Linked DNA regions of Homo sapiens: region 2 is linked to region 1. The links are contacts of gene promoters, found by promoter capture Hi-C in human tissues and cell types (Jung and others, 2019). All regions are on one chromosome and are shown on one strand. The core of a region is centred on a gene start or on the middle of the fragment in contact, and the rest is flanking DNA. Distances in the headings are between cores, read along the strand shown.

Region 1 (5,479 bases), core at 966-3,465:
ATGAAAAAATAACTCTTTTAGGGGAGGCTCCCTTCTTTTTCCTTTCTCTGATGCCTTGCTTTCCCCATCCAGTGCTCAGTTCAAACCAAATTATTCATATTCAATCCAAATGCCACTATTATTTTGGAGCAAAACTCTTATATCAACTTTATTGTGTAACTAGTCAAGATCCTTCTTCATTAGCTTGGTTGTAAAATAAGGTCATATTAATTTTTATGTTCTAATTATAATGACTTTGAGTCCTCATCCCATATTTTGTGAGATCTCATCTTTGTTTTTTGGAGACAGGATCTCACTCTGATGGTCAGGCTGGAGTACAGTGGTGTGATCTCAGCTCTCTGCAGCCTTGACCTCCTAGGCTGAAGCGATCCTCCCACCTAAACCTCCTAAGTAGCTGGGACTACAGGTATGTGCCATCATGCCCAGCTGCTTTTTTTTTTTTTTTAGATATAGTCTCGCTCAGCCACCAGCTAATTTTTTATTTTTTGTTGAGATGGGGTCTCACTATGTTGCCCAGTTTGGTCTTGAACTCCTGGGCTCAAGGAATCCTCCCACCTCGGTCTCCCAAAGTGCTGGTATTACAGGCATGAGCCACCACACCCAGCCTTTAAAAATTTGGGGGGACTCTTTTGTAATAACAGTTAGCTTAAAACACAAACACATTGTACAGATGTACAAAATATTTTCTTTCTTTATATCTTTATTCCATAAGCTTTTTTTCTATTTAAGGCAATTTTTAATTTTATGTTTTAAACTTTTTTTTTTGGTTAAAAACTAAGACTTAAACACAAACATAGCCTATGCCTACACCAGATCTGGATCATCAATTTCACTGTCTTCCACCTCCATCTCTTGTCTCACTGGAAGGTCTTCATGGGTAATAACATGCACAGAGCTGTCATCTGATGGTAACAATAACTGGGGCCAGGCACAGTGGCTCACACCTGTAATCCCAGCACTTTGGGAGGCTGAGGTGGTTGGATCACCTGAGGTCAGGAGTTCGAGACCAGCTTGGCCAACATGGTGAAACCCTGTCTCTACTAAAAATACCAAAAAATTAGCCAGGCATGGTGGCGCATGCGTTTAATCGCAAGGGATTTGGGAGGCTGAGGCAGGAGAATCACTTGAACCTGGGAGGCAGAGGTTGCGGTGAGCCGATATCGTGCCATTGCATTCCAGCCTGGGCGATAAGAGCGAAACTCCATCTTAAAAAAAAAAAAAACAAAAAAACAAAACAAAACAAAAAAACACAATACTTGGAATACGTGGAAAAAAATCACAATACTTAGAATACCTAGAATACCTTCTGAAGGACCTGCCTGAGGCTGCTTTACAGTTAACTTAAAAAAAAAAGTAGAAGGAGTACACTCTAAAATAGTGATAAAAACTACAGTGAATTCATAAACTAGTAACATAGTTCTTACCATTATCAAGTATTATGTACTGTACATAATCATATGTGCTATACTTTCACATGACTGGCAGTGCAGGTTTGTTAACACCAGCATCACTCCAAACATGTGAGTAATGCTTGTGCTATGACCTTATGGTGGCTACTGTGCCACTAGGTGATAGACATTTTTCAGCTCCATTATCATCTTAGGGGGCCTCCCTCGTGTTTGCAGTCCATTGTAGACCAAAATGTCCTTATGTGGCACATGACTGTAGTTGCAATACAGGACAAGAAAGTTGCACAATAACTGGGCCTTAGTTCCTGATACTTAGTAGCTGGATGACTTTGAGCACTCTAAGGTTGTTTCCTAATAACGTAAAATAGGGAAGCTAATCGTGATCCGGTTGCCTCACAGGTTGTTGGGCCCTGGTCAACATATAAGTTACTGTGCCAAAAAATGAGTTGATATAATTTAAGACTGTGTTGAATCACAAACGTTAAGTTATTCTAACATTATTGTTTTTTAGAGGTTATGAAATGAAAGGGGGGGGGGCGAAAAACTTGGTCCGCATCAAGAACTGAATCATTTTACCACGCTGGGTGCTGGGTTATACTCTCCCCACCCAGCAGATCAAACTCCTAACCCAGCATGAAAGATAAACTACAACTCCCGGCAGGCCTTGCTTCCGAACTGCGTCTTATAACCTCGGCTCAGGCCCAGGCCCAGACCGCTCCCCGCCCCCGCCACCCATAAACTACATCTCCCAGGAGGCCCCACGGTGCCCGATTGTCCGCTTTTCGCCCGCCCCCTGCCTCCTCTTCACCCCGCGCCAGCAGCTCGGTGGCCGAGTCGGTCCCGCGGCCGGCGGATCGGGCGCGCGCGTCGGGGGTCGTCCGGCTGCCAGGCAGGGCGAGCACGCGCCGGGAGGCCTTGGAGGCGTAGGGGGCGGGGGTACGGCTCGCCTGCTCGCAAGATGGCGGACGAGGACGGGGAAGGGATTCATCCCTCAGCCCCTCACAGGAACGGAGGTGGCGGCGGCGGCGGGGGGTCTGGGCTCCACTGCGCCGGGAACGGCGGCGGGGGAGGCGGCGGCCCGCGGGTCGTGCGCATCGTCAAGTCCGAGTCCGGCTACGGCTTCAACGTGCGGGGCCAAGTGAGCGAGGGCGGGCAACTGCGGAGCATCAACGGGGAGCTGTACGCGCCGCTGCAGCATGTGAGCGCCGTGCTGCCCGGGGGGGCGGCCGATCGGGCCGGGGTGCGCAAGGGGGACCGCATCCTGGAGGTGTGAGTATCGGGGCTACCCGCCGCCCCATCCTCCCCGCGCCCCTCCTGCCCCTGCACTCCTCGCTACCCTTGTCACCCCCAGGCCGCACCTCCCCCGAGCTCCGAGCCGGCCTCCGGACCCCCGCCCCTCAGGCCTCCGCAGCCGGGCCCCTCCTTGTGGGCTGCCCTCCCACCACCCGCCCCGGGGCTTCTGCGACGCCGGTCTCCCACCCCGTCGTCTCCAGCTGATGCCCTTGCGCCCCCAGTGCTCCTCCCTGTGCCCCGATTACTCTGGGCTCTTCTCCGCCCCTTTGCCTTCCCGTTTGGCGTGCTGCATTCTGCTCCTCACTCCCCCTCGTCTTGCTCAGAAGGAACCTCATCTGCTCCTTACTGACGGCGTTTCGTTTTCTGATCCAGCCAGTACCGTGTCCCCCCCAAGTTCTCATCTTCAGCATCGCAGTTTCGTTCTCCACCACTCCCCTCCGCCCCCGTGGACTGCCCCTTCTGCCCTCCAGACCAAGTAGGCAGGACCTCTGGTCTGCTCCTACTTTTCCTCCGGAAACACCATCCCTCCCCGCTCGTCTCCTTTTTCTTTCCTTAGTTACCCTCTCCTCATGGTTACGCTGCCCCTAAATTTTTCCATCCCACCGTGTGCCCCTTTCCTCCCCTCCTTTTTGTATTTCTACTCCAAGAGTTTACCTTGCTTTCTGACCCTTGCATGCCTTTGGGGTGGGGGGCGTGGGATTTGACACCGTAGTTTCTCTTCTCGGTTGGCCCCGTATCACACCCTAATTTGGAATCTAGCGTCTCCATCAGCACACCCCTCTGAGAGCATCCCTTCCCTGGCCTCCTGCCTTCACTCCTGCTCTATACTCATGCCTCCTCCTAGTCAGGTTTATGGTAGACCCCTTGTAACTCCTCCTCCTTCAAAACTACTTCAAGCCCTTTTTGGGTCTTTGACCGCTTTGCTTTTTTAGGGCATGCCCGTCTCTGCTGCCTCTTCTACTCTATCCTCCTGTGATCCCACACTTGACTTTGTCCTAGTCTTTCCCTCCCCTAGGCTGCTTTTCCTTTCTTCTGTTTTTTAAGGCGCCTTCTGCTGCTGCAGCCCACCCTCTCTCCCCTGCTGCAGTCCCTCCCCCTTCATACGCCTCCCCCACCACATCCCTCCATGCTCTTGCGGGATGCTGCCTTGTCTTGCAATCTCTGTGCACACCGCCTCCATTACCCTAATCTAGGTGTTACATTTGCCTTTTTGTACTTCGTATTGAAATTCGGATAGTGATTGCCGGTTGACTTGCAGGTGGTGTGTGCTCGCGTTGTCTCCGTTCTCCTCAGCAGTCTTCAGTGCTGTGTTTCTGCTTACTGAATCTATGTTGTGCATTCCTTTTTTACACTTTTACTCTCTCCCTCCATATTTCGATTTGCCCACTTGAAATCGTTCTCATTTTTTATAAATTTTAATTGTAATTTCCGCAACCTTCTGTTGCCTCTTGTAAAACAGTAGGTTTGCAAAAGGGATAGTTTTTTGAAAATCTGCCTTATAGAGAAATCCATTCCTTCTTACTCATCTCGTGCCATCTACCCTTATCCTTGACATTCTTAACTCCATGGTGTCCACTCATTCTGTTTCCTCACCTCTTCCACCTCAAGAAATGGTTGGTTTTAACCTGGGAGAGTTGATTGAAAAAAAAAAAAAGAAATAGTTGCTCACCTAGGCCAGTGTTTGGAGACAGTATACCTTTCCTCTGTCCTTTCTGTAAATAGATGCTTTCTTGTTTCATTAATGTCCTACATACTGTTTCCTAGTATTCCTAGTATTGTCTGACAATATATTCTTTTTTTTTCCTTGAGATGGAGTTTTGATCGTCACCCAGGCTGGAGTGCAGTGGCGCGATCTCGGCTCACTGCAACCTCCGCCTCCCGGGTTCAAGCGATTCTCCTGCCTCAGCCTCCTGAGTAGCTGGGATTACAGGCATGTGTCATCATGACCAGCTAATTTTGTATTTTTAGTAGAGACGGGTTTCACCATGTTGGCCAGGCTGGTCTGAAACTCCTGACCTCAGGTGATCCGCCCGCCTCGGCCTCCCAAAGTGCTGGGATTACAATAATGACTTTCAGATTTCTTATACTTGGGCACCTAATTATTTTCTTTCTAGATAACTCAAAATTTGTGGCTGATGTTTTCTTCCAATAGAAGGTCTCAGAATTGTCACTTTCCTTTCCCTTTGGAAGTTAATTTTGGACTCAGCTTCTTATTTTTAAATTTAAAACTAAAGCATTTATAATTATAAATTTATGATGAAGTTCTACATTATTTACTCTTCACAGGATCTAAAGGAACTAAACCAAAAAGAATAATTCTGTAGGAGACTATAGTTAATATGATCTATCTTTGCAGATACACGCACACATCCCAACATACATAGTTAGTGGCTTCTTGCCTTTATTGTGGCTTCTGCCCAAGAGCCTAGGTATAAACTGTAAAGGAGACCTCAGATAATCCCCTAGGAAAGGTAGAAGGACTTGCCTTAGGCTCAGGTTCCAGACTAGGAAGCTGGGAAATCTTTGCCTTCTAGAGAAAAAACATTACTTTTTGGCACATCCTTTGTGGTAAGTAGAGAACTTTGTCACTTTTAGTGGGCAGGGGAAAAGAATACTCTGCCTAGAAGACCTCTCTGGAAGGTTGTGATAATCAGAAATCTTCCTGGCATTGGTTTCTCACTCTTCCAACTATCTGTATTTTGATTTCCAAATTCTCTGAACCTTCTTTGGTACTATAGGGGAAGTAATGATAATTACAGCCCAAAGCCAAGCTAGTG
Region 2 (5,479 bases), core at 1,641-4,140, 460 kb before region 1:
TGTTCCCGAGGGACACAGCTTCAGCAAAAGCTTTTACTTGGTTAGCAAGGAGCCTGCAGCATGGATAAAAAAAAGGTCCTGTGAGGCTGGTGTGTGGGAAAGGCACTAGTTAGGAGCAAGGGGAGGGAAAAGGGGAAGACAAATTACAGAAGGCCTGGAATGACTAGGTGAGCTGGTTAAAATCATCTGACAGGAGTAGGACGTCATTTTAAATTCTTGAAAAAGGGTGCAACTTGTATTTTTTTATTTTTTTAAGCAAGAAGACAGAGACCTACTAGCAAGTAAACAAGGTTTAAAGGTGAGGGGAGAGGGACAATCAGACAAGGGTGATGGGAACAGATTTAGAAAGAAATACATGAATCTGAGAGCTATTTTGAAGGACAAATCAAAATGACTCTCTTGGCTGGGCGAGGTGGCTCACCCCTGTAATCCCAGCACTTTGGGAGGCCGAAGTGGGCAGATCACCTGAGGTCAGGAGTTCTGAGACCAGCCTGGCCAACATGGAGAAACTCCAGCTCTGCTAAAAATACAAAAAAAAATTAGCCGGGTGTGGTGATGGGCACCTGCAATCCCAGCTACTCAGGAGGCTGAGGCAGGGGAATTGCTTGAACTCAGGTGACAGGAGATTGCAGTGAGCCAAGATCGTGCCACTGCACTCCAGCCTGGGTGACACAGAGGGAGACTCTTAAAAAAATAAAAATAAAAATAAAAAACCTCTCTTCCTACTCCCTTAGTGTTTTGAAGAAAATCACACAGTCCTGGCCGGGCGCAGTGACTCAGGCCTGTAATCCTAGCACTTTGGGAGGCTGAGGCGGGTGGATTGCCTGAGCTCAGGAGTTCGAGACCAGCCTGGGCAACAACAGTGAAACCCCGTCTCTACTAAAATAAAAAGAATTAGCCGGGCGTGGCGGTGTGCGCCTGTAGTCCCAACTACTGGGGAGGCTGAGGCAGGAGAATTGCTTGAACCCAGGAGGCGGAGCTTGCAGTGAGCCGAGATCGCACCACTGCACTCCAGCCTGGGCAACAGAGCGAGACTCCATCTCAAAAAAAGGAAATCACACAGTCCCACAGATTGGATTGGAAAAGCACTCTCTTCCAATCCCCAGGGAGATATTTCAAACTTCCTCCTTTTTTTGCAAGTTCCTTTCCTTACCATTTCCTTGTTCATCTCAGGAAAACCCTCATCCGTCTTCAGAGAAAACAGAGATAATAAAGTGAGAATTCCACCAACTTTTTGCTCCCTACAGATATACTTACCTGCATCATGTCTCTCTCATCCTAGTGAATGCCATCCGTATCACCTGTCGAAGGTTCACCTATGACTTTACTGTAAGTTGTATGCAGTCCCTGGTTGTCTATCTTGCTCAACACTGTATCCTTTCCTTGTAGCATAGTGCCTGCACACAGAAAGTATTAACTTAAAAAAAAAATAGAGGCAGAGTCTCATTGTGTTGCCCAGGCTGGTCTTGAACTCCTAGGCTCAAGTGATTCTCCTGCCTCGGCCTCTCGAACTGCTGGGATTACCGGCGTCAGCCACCATTCCCAGTCTTAACCTGTCCTTTTCTACTGATATTTTCCCCTTAGCATATACACATGCTCAAGTAATTCCCATGATTAAAAGGAAAACATTCCAAACTTTCTCTTGATCCTTGTCTGCACCCAGTCATCACTCGATTTCTCTTCCCTTCATAACTAAGCTTCTAGAGTTACCTATACTTGCTATATCCATTTTCATGATTCTCATTCTCAATCATTTTAGTTTTTGTCCCCATCAGTCCACTGAGATTGCTCTCATTAAGGCCACCAACGACCTCCTGGTCACATTCAATGAACAACTCTTCAGTCTTTATCCTTTTGCCCTCTCTGTGCCATTTGACCTGTTGACTCCCCCCTCCTTGAAATGCTTTCTTCTTTTGGCTCCTGAGGTCCCTCTTTCTCTTAACAAAGACTAGGGGCTTAATAAATATGTATTTTTAATGAATGGATAGTTTCACTTCTATTAATATGGCTTTTCTTTTCTTTTCTTTTCTTTTTTTTTTTTTTTTGAGACAGAGACTCACTCTGTCGCCCCAGGCTGGAGTGCAGTAGCATAATCTTGGCTCACTCACTGCAACCTCCACCTCCTGGGTTCAAGCGCTTCTCCATCTCAGCCTCCCGAGTAGCTGGGATTACAGGCGCCCACCACCACGCCCAGCTAATTTTTATATTTTTAGTAGAGACAGGGTTTCGCCATGTTGGCCAGGCTGGTCTCGAACTCCTGACCTCAAGCGATCTGCCCACCTCAGCCTCCAAAGTGTTGGGATTACAGGTGTGAGCCACCACACCCAGCCTAATATGACCTTTCTTAGCCTTCTCTGACCTCTCTAAATGCTGGTGTTCCCTATGGTCATGTCCTTAGCCACCTCTTTCTTCTCTACCCATTCTCATTGGTCAAGATAATCCGACAATGAGAACAGTTACAAAACCAACAGTTACAATAAACTGTTTTGTTTTGTTTTGTTTTGAGATGAGTCTCCCTCTGTCACCTAGGCTAGAGTGCAGTGGCTCACTCGGCTCACTGCAAGTTCCGCCTCCCGGGTTCACACCATTCTCCTGCCTCAGCCTCCAGAGTAGCTGGGACTACAGGCACCTGCCACCATGCCCAGCTAATTTTTTTTTTTTTTTTGTATTTTCAGTAGACACAGGGTTTCACCGTGTTAGCCAGGATGGTCTCGATCTTCTGACCTCATGATCCGCCCGCCTGGGCCTCCCAAAGTGCTGGGATTACAGGTGTGAGCCACTGCGCCCGGCCACAATAAACTGTTTATATGTTGCTTACCATAAAATCTAGGTGTTCAACTCAGGTCTTTCTCCTGAGTTCTAGACTCATGTATACAATTGCTTATTGGATACTTCCATTTGGATTTTTCATGTTTACCACTTAGTCTAAAGACAGGAAGTAGCCAGGCGCAGTGGCTCACACCTATAATCCCAGCACTTTGGGAGGCTAAGGTGGGCAGATCACCTAAGGTTGGGAGTTCAAGACCAGCCTGACCGACATAGAGAAACCCCGTCTCTACTAAAAATACAAAATTAGCCGGGCATGGTGGCGGGCGCCTGTAGTCCCAGCTACTCAGGAGGCTGAGGCAGGAGAATCACTTGAACCCGGGAGGTGGAGGTTGCCATGAGGCAAGATCGCGCCATTGCACTCTGGCCTGAGCAACAAGAGCGAAACTCCATCTTAAAAAAAAAAAAAAAAAGACAGGAAGCTTGTCTTTTATCTTTTTATCCCCAGCACTTAATTGTAATGCCTGGCATACAGTAAGTAGAGGAAGAAATAAATGCATCAAAGATTAAAAACAAACAAACATCCTATGGCTCAGAGGAAAAACAACAACAACAACAAAAAACAAAAACAAAAAAAAAACAAGCCAGGTATGGTGGCTCATTTCTGTAATCCCAGCATTTTGGGAGGCCAAGGCAGGCGAATCATGAGGTCAGGAGATCGAGACCATCCTGGCTAACATGGTGAAACCCCGTGTCGATTAAAAATACAAAAAATTAGCTGGGCGTGGTAGCGCGCGCCTGTAATCCCAGCTACTCAGGAGGCTGAGGCAGGAGAATAGCTTGAACCTGGGAGGCAGAGGTTGCAGTGAGCCGAGATCGTGCCACTGCACTCCAGCCTGGGCGACAGAGTGAGACTCCATCTCAAAAAAGTAAATAAATAAAAATAGGACAGGCACGGTGGTTCACACCTGTAATCCCAGCACTTCGGGAGGCCGAGCTGGGCGAATCATGAGGTCAGGAGTTCAAGACCAGCCTGGCCAACATAGTGAAACCCCGTCTCTACTAAAAATACAAAAATTAGCCGGGCGTGGGGGTGCGCGCCTGTAATCCCAGCTACTTGGGAGGCTGAGGCAGGAGAATCACTTGAACCCAGGAGGCAGAGGTTGCAGTGAGCCGAGATCATGCCACTGCACTCCAGCCTGGGCGACAGTGTGAGACTCGATCTCATAAATAAATAAATAAATACCCCAAACAAAAAAAGAGTAAAAGCTGTGAACTATCTCCAGCTATGTCAGGCTGACTTACTTGACTGCTTTAAATCACACTAAACTTACTCTTTCTGAACTGATATGAGAGTATTGATCTTAACCATGGTAAAACCTCACCTAAAACAAACATCGGACTGTTCCATCCTGAATACTTTTCCAAATAACTGAAGTTTATCCAATTAAGTGCAAAATATCTTCATTTTGCTTCAAAGTAGAAATTGCTCAAAAAAGTACTATTCACTTCCTGTAGATTATACAGTGGAAAGAGCACCATTGAAAGTCATTGAGACTTAGCTAGATTCATCTCTGGAGTATGGCTTTGGATAAACTACTTATCTCTAAGTCTGATTCTGTCTTCTGTAAGTGGACATACTACCTTCCTGCCTACTTCTTAGGATCAAATAAGATCCTGTAGGTGAAACATTTTGCAAATTCAAAAGTGTTTTGCACATTTAAGATACCGTCATTTGGCCAGGGTACACAGTGACTCACTCCTGTAATCTCAGCACTTTGGGAGATTGAGGCAGGAGGTCTGTTTGAGTCCAGGAGTCCAAGGCTGCAGTGAGCAGTGTGAGCCACTGTACTCCAGCCTGGGCAAGATAGCAAGACCCTATCTCTAAAAAAAATTTGTGGCCAGGCGCAGTGGCTCACGCCTGTAATCCCAGCACTTTGGGAGGTCGAGGTGGGTGGATCACAAGGTCAGGAGTTCGAGACCAGCCTGGCCAATATGGTGAAACCCCATCTCTACTTAAAATACAAAAAAATTAGCTGGGCATGGTGGCACATGCCTGTAATCCCAGCTACTCGGGAGGCTAAGGCAGGAGAATTGCTTGAATCCGGGAGGTGGAGGTTGCAGTGAGCCGAGATCACGCCGCTGCACTCCAGCCTGGGTGACAGAGCGAGACTCCATCTCGAAAAAAAAATTGTTCTTGGCCAGGTGTGGTGGCTCATGCCTGTAATCCCAGCACTTTGGGAGGCTGAGGTGGGTGGATCACGATGTCAGGAGTTCAAGACCAGCCTGGCCAAGATGGTAGAAACCCCGTCTCTACTAAAAATACAAAAATTAGCCAGGCATGGCAGTGGGTGCTTGAAATCCCAGCTACTCAGGAGGCTGAGGCAGAGAATCAGTTGAACCCGGGAGGCAGAGGTTGCAGTGAGCCGAGATTGCACCACTGCACTCCACCCTGGGCGACAGAGTGAGACTCTGTCTCAATTGAAGAAAAAAAAAAAAATGAGAGAGAAAATAAAAGACTTCCCCATGAATGAAGTAAATGAACATTATAACATGTGACTCCTATGTTACTACCATTTTCCCCTCATATCCTGGTTCTTGGATATGTTTTGACTTTATTCTTTCAGCACATATTTATTGACCACAGTATGTGCCAAGCACTGTGTAGACACTAAAAGATAATCTGAGCTTAGTGGGTAGACAGTTAATAAAA

The links. The method cuts DNA at HindIII sites, captures the fragments that hold promoters and counts their contacts. A contact is called where the count stands out against the background at its distance.
Region 2: a contact is called between a fragment that was not itself captured here and the fragment with the promoter of SNX27 in region 1, in 1 of the 25 tissues and cell types used here (hippocampus).

The regions. Positions count from the first base shown.
Region 1 is chr1:151,609,835-151,615,313 of GRCh38, forward strand. It overlaps SNX27 (sorting nexin 27), which reads left to right and starts at 2,216. Exons shown (of 12, transcript NM_001330723.2): 1 at 2,216-2,678. The coding sequence starts at 2,368. It overlaps LOC124904420 (a long non-coding RNA gene), which reads right to left and starts at 3,534. Exons shown (of 2, transcript XR_007066622.1): 1 at 3,357-3,534; 2 at 683-2,565. RefSeq lists an enhancer at 1,992-2,091 and a silencer at 2,132-2,571. The HindIII fragment of the contact is 9,196 bases long and covers 1-5,479 here.
Region 2 is chr1:151,148,708-151,154,186 of GRCh38, forward strand. It overlaps a transcript of LYSMD1 not described here. Among named protein-coding and RNA genes, the nearest start is that of SEMA6C, 4.8 kb to the left of the region's middle. The HindIII fragment of the contact is 4,054 bases long and covers 864-4,917 here.